Regions from separate parts of the Homo sapiens genome. Here region 2 is linked to region 1. Evidence: promoter capture Hi-C in 16 types of primary human blood cells and fetal thymus (Javierre and others, 2016). All regions are on one chromosome and are shown on one strand. Each heading gives the region's core, a stretch centred on a gene start or on the middle of the fragment in contact. The rest is flanking DNA. Distances are from core to core; before and after follow the strand shown. Region 1 holds the start of AASDH (aminoadipate-semialdehyde dehydrogenase). Region 2 has its middle 3.1 kb from the start of DCUN1D4.

Region 1 (3,280 bases), core at 207-2,706:
TCTAATGTGAAAGATAGAGCACAAAATCAACAGAAGAAAAAAAAAGGAAACTTGAGGGAAATAGATACTGCAAGGGAAGAAAAACTTTAAAAAAGGTATCATTAATATCAGAGAGTTGGATGATGATACTGGAATAATAAAACATCATTTTGGCAGCAATTCAGAGTCAATCAGAGGCAAACAAAACTGAAAACGTTTTAGGAAAAAGCTGACCAAGAAGACCTGAACTAAAGTAGCAGTAATGGCGATGAACATGACACTTAAAAAACGCAGGTTCTAGGCCCCTCACTAGAAAACTAGGGGATGAACCTCCGGGGATGGAGTCCAGGAATTTGGAATCTTCTAAAACATCACCACCGGCAATTCTGATGTAGCCAGCTGGGTGCTGGTCTCAAGACTGAGAACTAGAGGACATAGGGTCTAATCGGATGTAAGAGGTTAAGAAAGTGGGAAGGTTGATAACTGTCTGGCTGGGTGGATGATGGTGTCATCCCAACGTAGAAACATAGAAACATAGACAAGATACACTTTTGCCCACTTCCAACCTAAATACATAAATAAGGCTGTGTTAGTTTGAGTAGTCCATGGTACATCTTGGAAAAGTATAGTTGGCATGTGGAGATATTTTTTGCTTAGATTAGAAGCACAGTTTCTTGTCACCAACAACTACGGCTGCGAGAGCGTCCTATGCTTTTTTCTCACGTACTGTTTTGATGCAGAGCTGTCTTCGCAGTCCCTCCCCCGGCTAAAACCCCCCAAACAAAAAAATCCCGATTATTCTGCCACCAGACAGTAGCTTTAAAACACCTCTGTTATTGCCCTTGACGCTTATTGTAATAATTGACATGTCTCCAACTGTAACAATTCCCTTGGAAACAGAAAGTTCTATTCAGGCATATAGTTTACAAAACTCCACCTCGGACCTGCTTTAATTTCTTTACAGGTCCTACTAAATGCTCCTGTCAAATTCCTTAGTTATCGTTTCAATCTGCTTCCCAATTAAAATGTCAGCATCATGATGACAGGAACGTCGTTTGCAGGCGTCACTGCTGCAGCCATATCTCCAGCACGTTTCCAGAAAATGTCATTGGTTGAAAGCAATAACTCTCCTATTTCACAATGATTTCATCTCTCTTCACATCAACCCTAGGTGATGTTTTTATTCTCACCTTATGAACGAGAATACTGCGGCTCAAAATTCAAGAGTCTTGCCCAGAGTTTTTTGGCAAGTACGAAAGGGTTATGGCTCCAAACTGGTTAGCTCCGAAGTCCTTGCAAACCCTGTCCGAGACCATGCGCGACCCCAAGGAGCGCCTGAGCAGATAACCAAAAGTGAAAAAGCCTATAGACCTCTTCACTCAAGTTAGCGCCTCGGCTTCAGGAGAGGCAGCGCCAGCTCCACGCAGCCGGCCCGGGGTCGCTCGCACTGACGTCACGTAGCGACGCGGAAGATTTACGTATGGTGCCTCGCTCTGGGATAGCTTTACGGCTTCTGGGAGCTGCTGCTTCGCTGTGAGAAGTATCCGCGACGAGCTATCCGGGAAAGGGCCGAATGCGATCAAACCTAATCCGCGAGACTTGCTAAGTGAGTCGCGGCAGGGCGCGGTGTCCGGCGGGGGTCTGTGTGAAGGAGGCGAAGTGCCGCTAGGCCTGAGCCTGCTTCCACATACATTTGCTCAGCTTCAGGACCACTGCCTGACCTCGGATTTGATACATCGGGGTCTGGCGTGCTGGTGTGGTGCAGACTAACCCTGACCTGTGTGTACACTCCTGCGTCACTAGCCTCCGCCCCTCCATTCAAATGGAAATAAGTGTGCTCCGCGCTCAGCTACCCCCTAGAGTGGTTTCGAAGAGCAATGAAGAAATGTTTAGGAAGCTGTAAATTGCATTGTTACTCGTTGCATACCGTAAATTTAGAAGCCGGGGAATTGGGAAAATAAAGTTTCTAGATTATTTATCCATTTTTAAAACAGCCAGTGGCCTAGAGAGAGGCCCCATAGCAATTGAATTTGCTGACACTCTTAAGATCTTTGTTGACTAAATAGCAGCTTCTACAGTTGTAGCAAGTAAATTTATTCCTTTTACATGTAAAATCTGCTTACCAGAGTTTGCTTTTTTTTTTCCTTTTTTTTTTTTTTTTTTTTTTTGAGACGGAGTCTCGCTCTGTCGCCCAGGCCGGACTGCGGACTGCAGTGGCGCAATCTCGGCTCACTGCAAGCTCCGCTTCCCGGGTTGACGCCATTCTCCTGCCTCAGCCTCCCGAGTAGCTGGGACTACAGGCGCCCGCCACCGCGCCCGGCTAATTTTTTGTATTTTTAGTAGAGACGGGGTTTCACCTTGTTAGCCAGGATGGTCTCGATCTCCTGACCTCATGATCCACCCGCCTCGGCCTCCCAAAGTGCTGGGATTACAGGCGTGAGCCACCGCGCCCGGCCTTTTTTTCCTTTTTAAGGTCTCAAACATTTGGGCATTAATAAGTTTAGTATTCTCTACTGCAGAGAATGTTATTTGTGATTCAATGAATGAAAATGAAAACCTGAGACAAGAAGAATGGATTTTACCTTAAATGTCTGTAGCAACCATTGGGAAAATGGAAAGAAACATCTTAATTATCGTATAGATGTGTAGGTACCCTTCTGCGCTACCTGTATGTTGCGAAATGAACTCATTCCTCATAATTTAAGCGCCTGCTGCAGAAAGCCTCCCTTATATTTACATAATGATCATTGTATGTCTGAGGAAAGCTTAAAATTGTATCTTGTGCATTAAAAAGAGCTAATATTTATAGAAATGCCTACTAAAAATAAATAATGTAAGTACTAAAGTTGCCTTATATGTTTAAACTGTATATTTAGAAATCACAGCATTTTCAAACTTATGGGTCTTGGCAGTTATTGGTTCATTTTACTCTCTTTAGGATTTCTTTTTCCTAATTGATGTTAATTAGTTGATATAAATGAAAATTTTGAGTCAGGAAATCAATTCAAATAGGTGTGAATAAATTAAAAAAAAAAAAAGAAAGAAAAGAAAACTTGACTCGGCCGGGCGCGGTGGCTCCGCCTGTAATCCTAACATTTTGGGAGGCCAAGGTAGGTGGATCACTTAGGTCAGGAGTTCAAAACCAACCTGGCCAACATGGAGAAACCCTGTGTCTACTTAAAAAAAAATAACAAAAACAAAAATTAGTTGGACATGGTAGCGCGCACTTGTAATCCCAGCTACTCGGGAGCTTGAGGTGGGAGAATCGCTTGAATCTGGGAGGCAGAGGTTGCAGTGAGCC
Region 2 (3,280 bases), core at 551-3,050, 4.5 Mb after region 1:
AATGCTCCCTCCATCTTAATCGCTAATTTCTCTTTAATAAATTACATCCTTATAATACTATTTATATAATATTTTTATCATTCAAACATTTATGAATCACTTTATGGAATCTCAGAACTGTACCTGAAGTTATTTATTATTTGCTTCAGGTTCTTTCGCAAGACAAGAATCTCTCATAGAACATCCTTATTGATCACCTTTATCATGACAGTACCTCAGCGGGGCCCCACAGTGATGGGTAGGTACCTCTGGACTCTGAGATAGGGGATTGCTTGTTGGGCAGATCTAGCAGTAAGAATATCCGCCCTTACTCTGAGCAGGGAAGCTGCTCCTGCATTCTTTATTCTATTTATGTTTCAGCTTAATCTACATCTAGGAAATAATAAATTATATGTCATTTAATACAAGTTTCAAATCTTTTGTGTGTGTAATATTTATGATTTTTTTTTTTACCGTTTACCATGGTACTTCAAAGACTGAGACACATGTTATTTTGCACAGAAAAGGGCTTCCTTCGTGACACCTCTAAATTACAATAAGCCCACAATTAATTATAGCTAGTCATTTGCTCTATTAATTTATTTGCAGCATACTTTATAATAATGTGTATAAGAGTTAAGCTAGATGAAGGATGGGTCGGCTGCTTTGCCCCAGCTCCCAACACTGGCCTGGCATATGCATGGTGTCCATAAAAATTTATAGAATGTACAACCTCTGTTATTTCTCAACATTGCTTTCAGTTGAGTCAGTATGATTATTTTCAAGTAGAAAACAGACTTAGAGGTAATTTACCCAGATCTTTATAAAGAGTCAGCTATAGCCTAAGGATTGAGAGGCAAAGCTCATTCCTAGTCGGCTGACCCTCACTGCCCCCACGTTTTACAAAGTATAATAAAATGACTACATAATGCTCTGCAAATATTACCTGGTCATTTAAATAATCCACACCATATAAACCTCTGATATCAGGAAACTTGTTATAGTTATCTTTTTACTTGCCTAGCACCTAGTACAATGCTTTCAAATATTGTGGTAGGCACTGGTTAACCATACCCCTTAAAATGAATGTTTACCGTACATGAAATTTTAGATCTGGATAGGAACCTTGGTGATTATCAAATCCAACATCTTCATTTTAAAAATAAGAGACTTGACATCCAAAGGAGTTAAATGTTTAATCTGAGTCACTTGGCTAGTTGATAACAAAACAGGGCTTAAATTCAGGTTTCTCAACTCTATCCCCTGTACCACACTGTCTAATATCAAAGCTTCAAATTCCAAAGATAGGTAAACTACTCTCCCTTCCCATCTGAAAGTTACTATGCCAATCTAATACAAGTCTGCTTCATGGTTGAAATGTTGCCTTCTTTTTTATGTATTTCATTCAGGATTTTTTTCAATATGTAAATCAATACTTCACTTTTTTTTTTCTCATTTGTAGTATTCCCAAAGAACATGATCCCCATGGAGAGGTTTACTGAGATAATAATGTTATACTTCTGTACATTTATATTTGAATCCCTGGAGAAAAAAATTAATAATTGAATATCTTGGGACTGTGATGGGTAGAGATATTTGGAGATGCAGTCTTTATGCCATTTCATTTCACCCAGTTACTGCTTTAAGGTAATATTGAAGCAAGTTACTCCATGTTAATGATACCTAATTTAATTGGAATTTTTCTATTTTATTAGTCATACAATATTAATTTTAATCAGATATATTTTGAAATGCCCTAAGCCTAGATTAGAATGTGATATGGAGAAGTCTAGTAAGAGAAAAAAAACAGCAGAGCTCTTCAATCAAATGTTACGCTTTCCCCTAAATTCTGCTAAGCCCACTGTAGCATGCTTTTCCTGCATGTGTTGGGATTGGGAGTAGGAGGAAGAATAGCATAGTTCTTGAGACTGAAAATAAGTTGGGCCTGCACAGACAGATAAATGTGTCCCTGGTAAGATTTAAAGAGAATAAGAAAGAACACAGGACAGAGAGGAATTAATTTGGCCTTAGATTACAGTGAGAGAGTTGGCAGAACTCCTTTAGTAATAAAATGTCAGGCTAGGTGGGTTTCTAGTATTTGGAAATGAAAATAAACCCCCTCCGAAAGGAGAATTTATCCATAGAGGGCAGGATAGTTTTCTTTCTCCAAATATGACCAACTGAATTTGCTGTCCCAAGTGATAACAACTTCTTTCTTAATGCTTCCTATGTGACGGGCACTACTCTAATAGTACTGTACTGGTAAACTAATCTACTTAACTTCACAACAACACAGTGGAGTACTAATAACTAATAGTATCCCCAATCTACAGGTAAGTTAACTGAAGCTTCAAGAGCTTCGGTAACTTGCCACCCAGCTAATAAGTAAACGTGCCCCTAAGTAGCCAGACTCCATGTTTTTAATATTCCTGTGTTGGGCTTTAGTTTCTTTCTTTCTTTCTTCCTTTCCTTCTTTTCTTTCTTTCTTTCTTTCCTTCCCTCCTTCCTTCCTTCCTTCCTTCCTTCTCCTTTCTTCCTTCCTTCCTTCTCCTTCCTTCCTTCCTTCCTTCCCTCCCTCATTCCCTCCTTCTCTCCTTCCCTTCTTCCTTCCTTTTCTCTCTCTCTCTCTGTCTCTTTTGAGACGGAGTCTCACTCTGTCGCCCAGGCTGGAGTGCAGTGGTGGGATCTCCATTCACGGCAACCTCTGCCTCCTGGGTTCAAGTGATTCTCCTGCCTCAGCCTCTCAAGTAGCTGGGATTACAGGCACACGCCACCACACCCGACTAATTGTTGTGTTTTTAGTAGAGACGGGGTTTTGCCATGTTGGCCAGGATGGTCTCAAACTCCTGACCTCAGGTGATCTGCCCGCCTCAGTTCCCAAAGTGCTGAGATTACAGGCATGAGCCACCGCACCTGGCCAGTTCCTTCTCTTTTTAATCAGGTTAATATATGCCCCTATATACCTCAGAGATTATTTATAAGGATACAATAATATGGTTGTTAACATGCTCTCAAAAGATAGTGAAATCAGGCTGGGCATGGTGGCTCATGCCTGAAACCCCAGCACTTTCGGAGGCTGAGGTGGGTGGATCACTTGAGCCCAAGAGTTTGATACCAGTCTGGGCCAACACAGGGAGACCCTATCTCTACAAAAAAATGCAAAATTATCTGGGTGTGGTGGCAGCTGCCTGTAATCCTAGCTACTCAGGTGGCTGAGGTGGGAGGATCCCTTGAGCCCTATGGGTGGAGGCTGCAGTGAGCTGAGATCACGCCACTGCACTCCAGCCTTGGTGACAGAATG

Evidence for each region. The method cuts DNA at HindIII sites, captures the fragments that hold promoters and counts their contacts. A CHiCAGO score of 5 or more calls a contact.
Region 2: a contact is called between a fragment that was not itself captured here and the fragment with the promoter of AASDH in region 1, in 2 of 17 cell types (non-activated CD4 T cells and total CD8 T cells). The highest score is 7.4, in non-activated CD4 T cells.

What each region holds. Positions count from the first base shown.
Region 1 is chr4:56,385,667-56,388,946 of GRCh38, reverse strand. It overlaps AASDH (aminoadipate-semialdehyde dehydrogenase), which reads left to right and starts at 1,456. Exons shown (of 15, transcript NM_181806.4): 1 at 1,456-1,585. RefSeq lists enhancers at 1,112-1,161, 1,024-1,530, 1,192-1,561, 1,531-2,038. The HindIII fragment of the contact is 3,410 bases long and covers 1-2,746 here.
Region 2 is chr4:51,838,412-51,841,691 of GRCh38, reverse strand. It overlaps a transcript of DCUN1D4 not described here. Among named protein-coding and RNA genes, the nearest start is that of DCUN1D4, 3.1 kb to the left of the region's middle. The HindIII fragment of the contact is 1,059 bases long and covers 1,271-2,329 here.